Regions from separate parts of the Homo sapiens genome. Here all the other regions are linked to region 3. The links are contacts of gene promoters, found by promoter capture Hi-C in human tissues and cell types (Jung and others, 2019). All regions are on one chromosome and are shown on one strand. Each heading gives the region's core, a stretch centred on a gene start or on the middle of the fragment in contact. The rest is flanking DNA. Distances are from core to core; before and after follow the strand shown.

The links. Contacts are between HindIII fragments. The study calls those that stand out against the background at their distance.
Region 1: a fragment that was not itself captured here is called in contact with the fragment with the promoter of SLC6A7 in region 3 in 2 of the 25 tissues and cell types used here (H1 embryonic stem cells and spleen).
Region 2: a fragment that was not itself captured here is called in contact with the fragment with the promoter of SLC6A7 in region 3 in 2 of the 25 tissues and cell types used here (H1 embryonic stem cells and bladder).

What each region holds. Positions count from the first base shown.
Region 1 is chr5:150,309,434-150,313,844 of GRCh38, reverse strand. No RefSeq gene overlaps it. Among named protein-coding and RNA genes, the nearest start is that of ARSI, 8.7 kb to the right of the region's middle. RefSeq lists enhancers at 3,666-4,299, 4,300-4,411. The HindIII fragment of the contact is 3,593 bases long and covers 649-4,241 here.
Region 2 is chr5:150,104,049-150,108,795 of GRCh38, reverse strand. It overlaps a transcript of CSF1R not described here. Among named protein-coding and RNA genes, the nearest start is that of CSF1R, 20 kb to the right of the region's middle. The HindIII fragment of the contact is 7,045 bases long and covers 1-4,747 here.
Region 3 is chr5:150,186,867-150,191,358 of GRCh38, reverse strand. It overlaps SLC6A7 (solute carrier family 6 member 7), which reads right to left and starts at 1,297. Exons shown (of 14, transcript NM_014228.5): 1 at 999-1,297. The coding sequence starts at 1,031. The HindIII fragment of the contact is 16,922 bases long and covers 1-4,492 here.

The DNA.
Region 1 (4,411 bases), core at 1,196-3,695, 120 kb before region 3:
AAAATACCATAAACTTAGCAAGCGATCTAATTTCTCAGTCCTGGAGGCTAAAAGTTGGAGATCAAGGTGTTGGCAGGGTTGATTCCTTCTAAGGCCATGAGGGAATCTGTTCCGGGCCTCTCCCCCAGCCTCTGGTGGTTTGTTGGCAATCTCTGGTGCTCCCTGGCTTGGAGATGTGTCACGCTAATCTCGCCTTCATCAAAGCTTGGTGTTCTTCTTTTGCACGTCTGCCTGTGTCCAAATTTCCCCTTTTTATAAGAATACCAGTCATATTGGATTAAGGGCCTACCCTAATGACCTCATTTTAACTTGATTATCTCTGTAAAAATCCTATTTCCAGATCAGGTCTACATTCTGACACATTCTGAGGTAGGTGGGGTTTAAACATTTCTTGTTTTTTTATTTTTTTTTTTTTTTGAGGGGTGGGGACATAATTCAACCCATAACATGATATCCATCAAAAAAAGAAAAAGAAAACAGAAGTCCAGGCATGGTGGCTCATGCCTGTGATCCCAGCACTTTGGGAGGCTGAGAGGCAGGCAGATCACTTGAGGCCAGAAGTTTGAGACCAGCCTGGCCAACATGGTTAAACCCCGTCTCTATGAAAAATACAAAAATTAGCCAGGCATGGTGCTGTGCACCTCTAGTCCCAGCTACTCAGGAGGCTGAGGCAGGAGAATTGCTTGAACCCGGGAAGCGGAGGTTGCAGTGAGCAGAGATCATGCCATTGCACTCCAGCCTGGGAGACACAGTGAGACTTTATCTCAAAAAAAAAGAAAAAAGAAAAAGAAAAGTCCTAGCCAGGGCTAGGAAAAAAAAAAAAAAAGAAAGAAAGAAAGAAAAAGGTTTTGGTGTGTGTATTTATAATGATATGTACTGTATTGTAGAATATTCCTGACAGGAAATAATTTCCATTTTGCTTAAGCATCTTTGAGCACTGAGTCTTTTGCTTAGAATTTTACAGGTCTGATAATTGGAAGAATTTTCCACAGCTTAGCTCTTGGCTCCTTAGATTTCAAAATTGTCCCTCTTCTCCGACACATATACTTCTATTGCCGGGGACTGGAAGACACCTTCACGCTGCCATCCAAGCTTGGGGCCTGCACCTTTGTGTCATAATATGTCAAGTGAGTCAGCTCAGCAGACAGCAAGAGCCCTGGAAGACATTTCTATACCGAGACAGCCGACTTAACTGTGCATGTATCCCCAGTTCAACTTCCCGTGAGCCAGACCCCCAAAATGCCACAGTCCTTCTAAAGCCATCTGTCCTGAGGAAAATAACAGTGAAGAGGTCAGAGGCAAGAGTCATTGATCACAACTGATTGCAGTTAAGATGACGGGCTCAACTTTCAGATACGTGATCATGTGAACACAGTGTCGGAGCCCCCCTCAGGGATTAGAGAGGACCCTGTGCTAGGGAGGGGTCTGGAAGCTTAAGCTGTACTAATTTCATGGTCAATCTGTCTCAGAATGGGTGCCTCTCCCTATCTTAAAATAATCGTATGAGCAGGCTGGGCGTGGTGGCTCACACCTGTAATTCCAGCACGTTGGGAGGCTGAGGCTGGTGGATTACCTGATTGTCAGGAGTTCGAGACCATCCTGACCAACAGGGTGAAACCCTGTCTCTACTAAAAATACAAAAAAAAAAAAAAAAAAAAAATTAGCTGGGCATGCTGGCAGGCGCCTGTAATCCCAGCTACTTGGGAGGCTGAGGCAGGAGAATCGCTTGAACCAGGGAGGCGGAGGTTGCGGTGAGCTGAGATCGCGTAATTGCACTCCAATCTGGGTGACAGAGCAAGATTCTGTCTCAAAAAAAAAAAAAAAATCCTACGAACATTCATGAGATACAGACTTACTCATCTACTATAAGCCAGGGTCTGTGCTAGGAACTGAGGAGGCAGAGAAAAACTAAGCCAGCTGAGTGCAAATCCAATTTCTAGGTATCACAACCTCCGTGAGAGACCTGGCCCTGAGAGACTGGGTTTGCCCAAGAGACTAGGTTCTCCCAAGGGTGGGTCATAGGATAAAGGAAAAAACTAGGCTCAGGTTAGGCTATAAGATGGGGCTTTTCCCTTTGATAAGCATATTGAAAATCCCTGTGAGATGAAGCCTCCCTCCAGGGTAATCTTGATGCTGAAAGGCCTCTTCATAATCAGAATTCCAGACCAAAGCGAGTCCACCCATAAAGCCAGGAGCATGGGAATTGACACCCTCAAATGAGACCTTGGAGCCATGCTGCTCGCAGGAAACTATCCCCTGCCTGAAGTCCTGGATCCAGGGGACGAGGGCTCAGCCTCCAGGTCCAACTGCCAGCGTTGGTCTGGAAGCTTCCTGCTGAGCAGAAACTCACTAATCCCTAAACCAGCTCTTCCTGCCAGTGACCAGCCAATTACCACTGCCTGCCTCAGCTCCAGCCCAGCTTCATTCAGGACCGAGGCACTCTTAATCATGTGAAGGACACATATTTTGGGGTGTTCTCCTCTCTGAGCCTCAGTGTCTTCACAAGTCTAAGGGAATGACAATGGACCATCAACTCCAAGAGGGCCAGGTGGTTTGTCTTGTCCATATCTGTAGTCTTAGTCCCAGTGAGTGAAAGGCACATAATAGTTGCTCAGTAAGTGCTTGTTGAGCAAATGAATTGGATAAAGAGATCCTTGATTTCTGTGTGGATAAGACAGCATTCTCGCAGTAGTTGGTACTCATCCAGTAGCAAGTGACAGATGTCAACACAAATTGGTGTAAGAAAGAAGGAACGTATTGTTCCCATAACTGAAGTCCAGGGGAGTAGTTCTAGCTTCAGGTAGGACTGGAAAGGACCCATGTACTCAAATGGTGTTATTGGGAATCTGTCTTTACCTCTCACTTTGCTTTTTTTCTCTTCACTACAGTTAGCTCCAGGCAGGTCCAGGCTTCTAATCTTCTTGCTCCAAGTCTAGCAGCAAAGAGACAATGAACAATCTTGTTCTCAAAAATCCAAACAAAATTCTCAGAATTGAGTCTCACTAGACAGTCTTAGGTCACTTGTGCATTCCTGAACTAATCACTTTGACCAGGGACATTTGATGCTCTAATTGTCCAAGCCTGCTCCTGGAGTCAACCCATCAGTGGAAACCCATCAAAGAAAATCTAGGTTCTGTTTCCAAGAAAGGGGAGCAGCTGCAAGGCAGACAATAGGTGCCCATCACAGTATTTGACTAAAGTCTGAACACCTAGGCAACTCTTACCTTCTCTAAGCTTCAGTCTCTTCATATGTCATTGATAACAATGATGACACTAACAAAATTCCTGCCCCTTTTACATCCCAGAGCTTTCGTGAGGTCCAAACAAGATCATGAGTTATGATAATAATTAACATTTATTGAAGGATCACTGGACATCCGGCCCTGTGCTAAGTAAACCCTTTACACATTTAGTTTTATCGTTACCACAATCCACGTTACTGATGAGAAGCAGGTTGAGAGAGGCTACAAGGCTTGTATACTGGTCACACAGCTAGGAAGGGTGGAGCTGGGGTTTAAAGCAGTACCCTCAAGCATGAAGCTATATATAAACTGTAAATAATTTTACAAGTGTAAGGGATTATTAGTAACGGCCTGTACTATTAATAATAGAAAATATTTAAAACCCTGAAAGGAAATTCAAATAAATTCAAACAAATGTTTGTTTAGCACCTACTATGGGCTGATCACTCACCAGGGGCTCAGAAAGAGACACATAAATAACTCTGAAACAGGCAGACTGTGATCTAATAGAACCATAAACATGCCCCAGGGGACTGTGGAGAGCAAGAGATTGACTGAATAGGGAAGGAAGGGAGGAGGAGGTCTAGAAAAGTCTCTTGGAAGCGGTGGGATTTGAGCTGGGCTTTAAAGATTAAAGGACTTCAACAAAGGAAGGGAAAGGGAAAATCAACTTTTAAGAGACCTGAAAGGATCTAAAGACTCAGAACAGAGTTCTTGGATAAGGGTTCAGCACTTCTATGCAAAATAACTTTAGCACCAGCAGGGACTTCAAAAGTGATTGACTTAGCAGAGCACAGTAGTTGCCATGGGAACAGAGGCAAGCCTCATCCCTGTCATTAGAGAGCATCTCTGGCTTTGAGCAGTCTAGCCAAGGCCAGGAGGCAGCGGGGGCTGGGTTGTGCTATCCCTTAGAAGAAAAACCCAGCAAGATTGCTGCCCCGAGAGACTGACTCTCATTTCACAGGGAGGCAGAGCTGACAGGTGACATCTGGGTCTGAGAACATAGAAAGCCAGAGGAAGCCTCTGCCTCAAGGGGCTTTGGGACATCCTGAAGCTATTGGAGCAGGCAAGGGAGCCTCAAGGAGGGAATGGGAAGGGCAGGGGACAAGCCTGAGAGCGGCTTCCAAGATGGATCAATTCCCACTCAGTCTGGGAGGAGCAGAGCAGTG
Region 2 (4,747 bases), core at 2,035-4,534, 85 kb after region 3:
TTCTCCTGCAGGGCTTCACAGCAGGCTGCCCTTGCCCAGCTCCCCTTTGCAGATCCACAGTCTCTGGTTTTAGATTTTGTGGGTCTTCACTGCAGGAACTAGAAAAGTCACAAACATGGGGAAGTAACACAGTTTCTGGAAAATCACAGAATTCTAAGTCCCTTTTTTCCCCTCTGAAGAGACAAGAGGGAAGCTTCCACATCTGAAAATTTTTCTTTTTCATTCTTGATCTTCCTGAAGCATAGTGATGGTCTTGGTGTTCCCTTGCTCAAACATCTTCAGTGGCTCCCCGTGGCCCAGCAAAGTCGAGACTCCTTCATGGAATCTTTAAGGCCCTCCCTGATCTGATTCCAACCTCTCCTACTGCCTCTCCCACATCTGCCCTCCAAGGTCCATCCACCTTGTGTGGGCCACTAGCTTCCTGACCTCTGCCCCTTTTTTTGGTGCTACCGTCACCACCTAGAATGCCCAGTCTTTTATAGCTGAAGGTCAAAGTCTTGCTCAAGCTTCCAGCCCAGCAAAAGCTACTTTCTCCAAGAAGCTTTCCTCATTCTTCAGCTGAAAATGATTTCTCTTCGCATTCCTTTGTCTGTGCCTCTTATGGGCCCTCACATCTGTTCAGCATTCTTAGCCTCCCATACCCTGTGCACTCTTACGCCTCCAGGCCTTTACTGTGCTGTTTCTCCTTCTTGGAACATTCCTTCCTCCTCCCTGTATCTCTCCCCCAACTCCTCACCCTTCTCACTTCCTCTCAACTCAGATAGGGCCTTCCTTGACTCTTCTCTCCGGTGATCCCAGGACATCTTGCAACTCCCCCAGTGGCCTGGTTCCTCTCCTGGCTCTGACAATAGGCTGTGAGTTGCAGAAGGGAGGGACCACAGCTGACCTGTTCACCACCATGTCCCCAGGGCCAGGGACAGTGATTGAGAAATATCTGTTGCATGCCCTTCACCTGCATTATTGTCTCACTGGATCTGAGTCAATAGCCCCTTCCCCATTTTACATAATGAAGAAACAAGGCCTTGAAAGGCCGGGGACCTGGCTGTGGTTAGGAGTGGGGAATGAATTCCTGGTCTATCTGGCTCCAAAGCCTAGGCTGTTCCCCTTTACCCTCGATCCTCCTGAGAGCCCCTGCCATTGATGAAAGACAGTGGTTGAACATGTGGGCTCTGGCTCTGGGTTCCAGGGTTTAAAACCCAGCTCTGCCACTTAGCTGTTTAACTCCAGGCAGGTTACTTACCATCTTTGAGCCTGTCTTTCTTCATCTGTAACATGGAGTAATTACAGCTTTCCCCTAAGGTGGCTGGGAGAATCAATGAGATGATCTGTGCAAATAGCTCAGTCCAGAGACTGGCATGAAGAGTGTGCCCAATGGATCAACCAGAACAGTCCTTCTTCATGCCCCTGTGTTAATGCAATTATTAATAGCACCCCTTCCAGTCTCAAAGGTTCCAAATTGGATGACAAATCATGTTAATGTCCATAGATGTCAGATATTATCAGCTGCACTGTATAACACCACTTAGCTACTTGCCTTACCTCCCACCAGGCGGTGAGGTCCCTGCATGCAGGAAAGTGCTCTGAGCCTTGGCCTTCCTGGGCCCAGAACAAGGCCTGACACATGAAGCATTTGCTGAATAAATTGCTTTTGGAGGGTGGAGAGCTTCTCCTTGCTCTTCATTTATTCATTCATTCATTGGATTGTTTATACATTTCTTCATGCATCTGGCATTGACTGAGCACTCATCTGCCAGGCAGGGCCAGGTGTAGAGGGTATAAAGAAGACCGGAAGGGAGACTGGCCCTACCAGGAAACTCCTGCTGCAGAACAAAGGGGTCAGAATGACATCACACCAATAACCACTCTCATAACTGTGCTTCTGTTGACAGCGAGAAGTGCCAGGAAACTCAGGGAGCCACGAGAGACTATAAGACAGGGACTCAGTCAGGCAAAGGGAGGCTTATGGGCCAGGTGGAAGCAGAAGTATGTGGAACAGGAAGAAGGAGTGTGGGGGTGTATGCAGGAGCTGCAAGTGTTCAGTACAGCAGGGAGGGTGGATGGAGAGAGAAGAGGCAGAGATCAGATTGCAAAGGCCCCTGTAAGCCCTGCTACAGGGTATGGCCTTGATCTGCTCTATGGAGCTGCAATAGTAATGGGAGCAAATACCCCATAGTACTCCAATTCAGACACTAGAGCTCAATCCTCAGGCCTAGAGATAGGTGTGGTCGAACCTTTGTGGTCCAGGGTCAAAGAGGAACCAGTTGCCAAATTGCCATTATTCTGTCTGGGTCCCTGGCTCCTAGCTTGGGCCCACTCCACTCTCTGGTGGGGAACCTCCTGGGTCCCAGGGCATGGGCTGCAGTTGGGGTTAACTGGGCAGGAGGGTGGGGGCTAAGCTGTCCTTGACCTGGGGTCTGGAGGTTCCAGGGTCCAGGAGTCAGGCAGGGAGATGAAAACTAGGCTCTCAGTATGTGAAGTGTGACATGGCCCACACATTTCTTCAGAGTTTCCTAATCCTTGGGCTGTCATGCAAACTCCTCTCAAAGTTCCTCTGCCACAGGAAGGGGTAATGTCAATCTGGGATTCTTGTTTGTCACCTTCCCGGCAGCATCACCAAGGCTTCCTCAGTCAGGGCTTACCCCACTGAGTCCCATGGCACTTCCCCACTCTGTGTCCACTAGCGGTCAGCACACCCACTGCTGGGGGAGGTCAGGATCGCCCTGTGCAGTGTGCTGGTCATTAGCGTAGGCTCTGCAGCCAGGCTGCCTGCTTCCAGTCTCAGCTCTGTCATTCCCTGGCTCTGGGACTTTGGGCAAGTGAACTAACCTCTCTGAGCCTTGGTTTCCTCATCGGCAAAATGGCGTAATTAATAGAATCAGCCTCATGTGTTAAAAGCACTAAATTAGATAAATATGGAAAGAGCCTGCTGTGGTGCCTGGCACATAAACAGCACTCAGAAAATATTAGGGAGTCCAGTGTGGTGGCTCACACATGTAATCTCAGCCCTTTGGGAAGCCAAGGCAGGAGGATCGCTTGATGCCAGGAGGAGTTTGAGACCAGCTGGAGCAACACAGTGAGACCCTGTCTCAACAAAAAGAAATAGAAAATTAGTCAAGTGGGCGGTGTGTGCCTGTAGTCCTAACTACTCAGGAGGCTGAGGCAGGAGGATTGCTTGAGCCCAGGAGTTTGAGGCTTCAGTGAGCTGTAACTCTGACACTGTACTCTAGCCTGGCAACAGAATGAGACTTGCCTATAAAAAAAGGGAAAAAGAAAAAAAAGAGGCCAGGTGTAGTGGCTCACGCCTGTAACCCCAGCATTTTGGGAAGCCAAAACGGGCAGATCACTTGAGGTCAGGAGTTCGAGATCAGCCTCGCCAACATGGTAACCCCGCCTCTATTAAAAAAAAAAAAATATATATATATATATATATATTTTTTTTTTTTTTTTTGAGACAGAGTCTCTCTCTGTCACCCAGGCTGGAGTGCAGTGGCACAATGTTGGCTCACTGCAACCTCCGCCTCCTGGGTTCAAGTGATTCTCCTGCCTCAGCCTCCTGAGCAGCTGGGACTACAGCCACGTGCCACCACGCCTGGCTGATGTTTTGTATTTTTAGGAGAGACAGGGTTTCACTGTGTTAGCCAGGCTGGTCTCCATCTCCTGATCTCGTGATCCACCTGCCTGGGCCTCCCAAAGTGCTGGGATTATAGGTGTGAGCCACTGCACCCAGCCTCTGTCAAAAATATTAAAAAATTAGCTGGGCGTGGTGGTGGGTGCCTATAGTCCCAGCTACTCAGGAGGCTGAGGCAAGAGAATCACTTGAACCCAGGAGGTGGAGGTTGCAGTGAGCTGAGATCACGCCACTGCACTCCAGCCTGGGTGACAGAATGAAACTCCATCTCAAAAAAAAAAAGAACAAATGAACAAAAGAGTAAGGATTAGGCCTCTAAATGCCATTTTTTCCAGGAGGACAGAGTACCTTCCTACTCACGGGGCTTTGGCATACAGCATTCATTCATTAATTCATTCACTCTTCATACATCTAAAATCAGTGGATCAGAATGGTCAGGTATACCTGTACCATAGGAGGCAGAAATGCCCTCACCAGCTGTGTGATCTTGGGAAAGTGACTTAACTTCTCTGAGCCTTGGTTTGCTCTTCAGTAAAACAAGGATAATAACCACACCTACCTCTAGAGTTGAGGATTCAATGAGAAAATTCCAAAGAGCACTGGGCGTGCTGCCTTTCACATAGTGAGCACCTGATAAACCTTTGAAGCCTGCCATGCAAGGAAAATGCTGGGATGCGGTTGAGCCCAAAAGGCCTGGGATGCATAATAAGGATACCTGCCCATCTGGCAGGAACAGGGAGGCTTCCAGGAGGCAGCGAGTCTGAAGGAGCTATAGGAATTAGCTGGATGGATAGAAATGACAGGACAAGCAGCATCCTTTGATCGTGGGGACAGAGACAGGTCCTGCCAAGGTGGCCTAGGCCATCCCTCAGGACTACTGTAGCCTCCACCCCTCTTGCTGGTTATACCCCTCCTCCACCTAAACATGTTCCACCAGAGAGGGGTCTCTGCCAGCCTGGGTCAGGGACTTGGTGAGAATTGCATGAAAGCTGGGCAAGATCACACACAAACTTTGCATCCGTGTTAGGGGTGCCCAGGTTTCCTCAAGGCCATCCAGGGACTCTCAAAGGCAGTGGCCTCAGCCAGAGGGAGCATGAGAATCCGCTAGAGAGCTTGTTA
Region 3 (4,492 bases), core at 48-2,547:
GTGTGTGAGTGAGTGTGAGTGTGAATGTGTGTGTATGTAGGGAGGTTGATAACACCAGCCCCTGAGAACAGTCTTCTCACATCTACCAGCCCTTTAGCATTCTTCCCCACACCTCACACACCCAGTGGGGCCTGTTTTGGTGCCTCCAGGCTAGGGCTTAGCCAGAGGAGGTTCAGGTTAGAGAATGAACTTGTCCAAAGTCACCAGGCAAGTGGCAGCGGCAGAAATAGTATTCAGGAGATCTGACTCCTTAGTTAGGACTGGTACAAGCCAGAAAACGTCCCCCAGTATTCCCCCTCCCCATATCCTGACAGCTTGGCTGAGAGGTCCAATCCCACAAGGCAAGGTAGGGAGAGCCTGAGGTCTGGGCCCACAGCCACTCTCCCATACCAGCTTCCATCTTCATTGATCATATCCTCCTGCCTCCGATAGCCCCCTCCCTGTCTTTGCCTCCCTTCAGCCCTGCTGAGGGGCAGCCTGGGGTCTCAGCAGGCAAGCTAAGGGGGCGGGGAGGGAGCAGGCAGGAAAGAGGAGAGTCTTCCCGCAGGCTCAGGGAGCCGGCTTCAGTATGGATGACCGCCTCCCACTCCCCACCCCTCAGATGAGTCCAGCTCAACGCTCAGGTATTCCAATACCCCCCACACCCGGCAATCAGCTCCTGGCGGGGAGCAGCAGGGTGGAATTGGGGAAGAGGTGGGTGCCTGGCCCCGGCCGCCCCTACCCCGCGCCTCCGGGGACTGCAGACACCTGTTCATAGGCCTGGCCCAGTGAACCAGGACTCCCCTCATACTACATCCCGAACCCCAGATGGCAGGGGCAGAGGTGGGGGCGCAGACCGTGACCCTGACCCTCCCTGTTATCCAGCTGAGTCGGGCCTTCCCCAGAGCCCGAAGCTGGTCTGGGTGCATCCTCAGACCTTCCCCAGGGGCCTCGTTGGGGGCGGGTCTCTCCAACCCTCCTCCAGGTGCACCCCCAGCGCCCCCGCCCTCGTGCCCTACCTTGCGGAGGTGAGCTCCCTGGAGCTTCTTCATCTTGGAGAGCGGGTGGCCGGGGCTCAGCTGCCCCGGAGCGCAGAGAGCGAGGGCACGAGAGATGGTCCGCTGGCCACTGCGCCTTTGCCCCCGCGGCTCCCGCGCACCGGCTGGGGCGGGCACGGACGCAGGCGCTGCCGTCTGGCGGCTGCGGGCGTGGAGCGCGGGCAGGGCGCTGCGAATGCCTTGTCTGTCCCTGCGCAGCGCCCGAGGCTGGGGAAGGGTGCACTGCTGCGCCCGCATAGACACCCAGACAGACAGCTGACGGACGGACGGCGGGGGGATGCGCGCGCCCCCGCACGCAGAGCTGCGGATTGGAGAGCCCTGAGCGAGTGGGGAGGGGGGTTCGCGACGGAAACCCTCGGCTTTCTGCGTGACCTTGGGCAAGCGACCTGCCCTCTCTGGGACTCCCTTTCCACAGTTGGGCAAGGAACACTAACAGCCCACCCCCCTGCGTCGTCTTTGCTGTGCGACCTTAGGGGATAAGAATCTCTCCTCTCTTACAGGAGTGTGAGCAATTCAGGAAGATGGAGCATAGAAAACATCTAGCACAAAGAGCCTGACACATAGTAGGTGCTCAGTTAACATTTATTCACTGACTGTGGGTTGCCCACGCCACCATTAGTCCAATTATTCAATCTATCAGTATTTATTGAGCACCTAAAATGTGCCAGGTCCTGAACTAGGTGTCCTATTTTCTCAACCTGGAGAGACAGGTGTCGTTACTCCTATTCTACAGATGAGGAAGCTGAGGGACAGGGAAGTTAAGTTACTTACTCAAAGTCACGGGGCTAATGAGTGACACCAGGGACAGAGTCAGGCTTCATGGACCTTTAGGCTAGTAGAGTCTTCAACTCTCCTCCTTTCCTTAAGATGAAAGCAAAATGGGGAGGTTTGGGTGAGCAGAAGGGACAGGCAAGTGCCACAGTGTCACTGTGATCTGTGACTTAGATGATTAGTAACTGGTTTCCTGTCCAGCAGCAGTATGGCTTCTGGAAAGTTCTAATTTCATATCTGTAAAATGGGCCACGAGCCGCCCATGCATTGTTGCCTCAGAATGTTCTGAGGGTCCAGTGAGCCTGTGGCTAGGATGGGAAATGATGAGCTGGAGCAATGGCACACGTTGGTTTGCTGGGACTGACTGATAGACACTAGCGGATCAGTATATACATTACAAATTGTGTCCTTTTCACCCTCGCAAGTGTCCCAGTTTAGACATTAACCATACATCTGTTTGGCTCACTATCAGTTGACACGGTGGGAGGCCTTTGGGGAGAGATGAGAATAAGGTTCTGCTCTCTCCCACCTCTGGAGCTTGAAAAAAGGTTGGAGGGGTTTAAGTCAAAGCATGGACTTGGGTAAAGGCCTGGCCAGGCTCCAGTCCACCCCTTCCCCTGCCCAGGTCCTGTCAAACTTCTCTCCCCTTTGAGCCTGGCCACAAAGGGCAAACCAGGGGCTCTCCAGACCCAGGAGGAAGGTGTCTCCTCTGCCCCCTGCCTGCTGACCCATATGGGGCCAAGAGTGGCTGTGAGTGTGAAGAGAAGGAGCATTTATGGAGCCCTACTGTGTGCATTATGAAGGATTTTTGCATCCAACATCTAATTTTTAATTCTTTCCAACTGTCTGGGAAGACATGTTTGTGCATCTCATTTTACACCTGTGGAAACTGTCCCAGAGGAGTGAAGTCATGCACTGGGCGTTGGGGATGAAGCCAGGAAAGCTGTGGGTCATGGCTGGGAAAGGCAGAAGCCAAGGGCTCCTGAATCCAAGGAGGCCCAGGCAGGAAACTTCCCCATCCCTCACCCAAGGCTTGTCAATGCATCTTGTACAAAAGAGGCTCAACCTTGCTCAACCACTCCCTCCCATTGGCACTTGGGTTTCATGAGACCCTTTGGAAGGCACAGAGGGCCACAGGGACAGCGAGCAGGGATGAGGCAGTTGGCTCAGGAGCCAAGAAGACTGGCCTCTTTATGACCCTTCCTAGCAGCACCTGCTCCTCCCACTTCACGGACCCAGCCCTGGGGGAGAAGAAGGGAGTGGACCAGGGCTTTAGCTTCCCTTGAGCAGACACATCAGGGGGTGACCACTGAGCCACTGTGGCAGTCACTGGGACTGTGAGGTGCAAATGGATCTAGGCCCATGCCTTTCAGATAGGGAAACTGAGACCCAGAGGGGCAGGATTTGCAAAATCACTCAGTGATTCAGTAAAGACAGGATCATGTCTATAACCTAGGAGTCTGACCTCACCCAGGCTCTGCCCTCTAGCTCATACCTCTCTGCCACCATCACCTCCATCCCCACAGCCCTGGTGGGGAAAGTCTGCCCTTTCATAAAACAAACAAAACTCAAAGATTTTCTTTTCTTTATTTTTTTGAGAGAGATCTTGCTCTATTACCCAGGTTGATGTGCAGTGGCTCCATCTCGGCTCACCACAACCTTCGCTTCCTGAACTCAAGCTACCCTCCCACCTCAGCCTCCCAAGCAACTGGGACTACAGGTGTGTGCCACCATGACTGGCTAATTTTTGTATTTTTTTGTAGAGACAGGGTCTTGCTATATTACCCAGGCTGATCTTGAACTCTTGAGATCAAGGGATCTTTCTGCCTCTGCCTCCCAAAGTGCTGGGATTACAGGCATGAGCCACTGTGCCCAGCCAAAACTCCAAGATTTTCTAAAAGACATTATCCACATAAATCAATCTACCCACTGAAGCTCCAATTTTATGATCATACAACTGGCCAGGAGTCTGGCAACCAAGCACATTTGACAATTGCTGTCACCACCATCTCCTCTCCCCCATTCCAGAGGGGGTTTGATTCATGGCAAAATGACTGCTTAGGAATCCAAATGGTAAATATTCACTCTCCCTTTCCCCCTTCTCTCCCTGTTGTGGTCTCATATCAAACCAGAAGTGCAATGGAGATGTGTGTGTGTGATTTAAGGAAAGTGTCAGATGAACTGTACTTCCTTTTATTATATAGGGAGATATTTTTAAATGTATATAAATAAACATTTTTAATTTGCTTAAATATTCAGATTTTATCACTGTAGAGCATGTGTTTTGTCACACTAGGGAGTGACGACTGTAAAAAACAAGGTTCCAGGCTGCTAGTCCATCTGGAGTGGTTCAGAGGAAGTGATCCCAGAGCTGCCTGGTTGGAACGGGATTGCCCTCCAAAGCTGCCCTGGCGGAGGCTGGCTGTGCTCCCCAGCTCTGCATCCCTCTGGCAGATCATCTCAAACACTCAGAGCCGGGCTGATTTCCTCAGAGCTCCACAGTCCTCCTGTTCTAACCCTTGTACCCCTATCACAGCCCATTACACACACACAGACACACACACACACACACACACACACCCTTGACTGCTGGAGCCCTCCTCAGAACACTCCATTCCCCACCAAGTCCCTCCCTAGAGTAGTGCTGCAACTGTTCTGCTCGGTCCACACCAATCTCTCGGCAA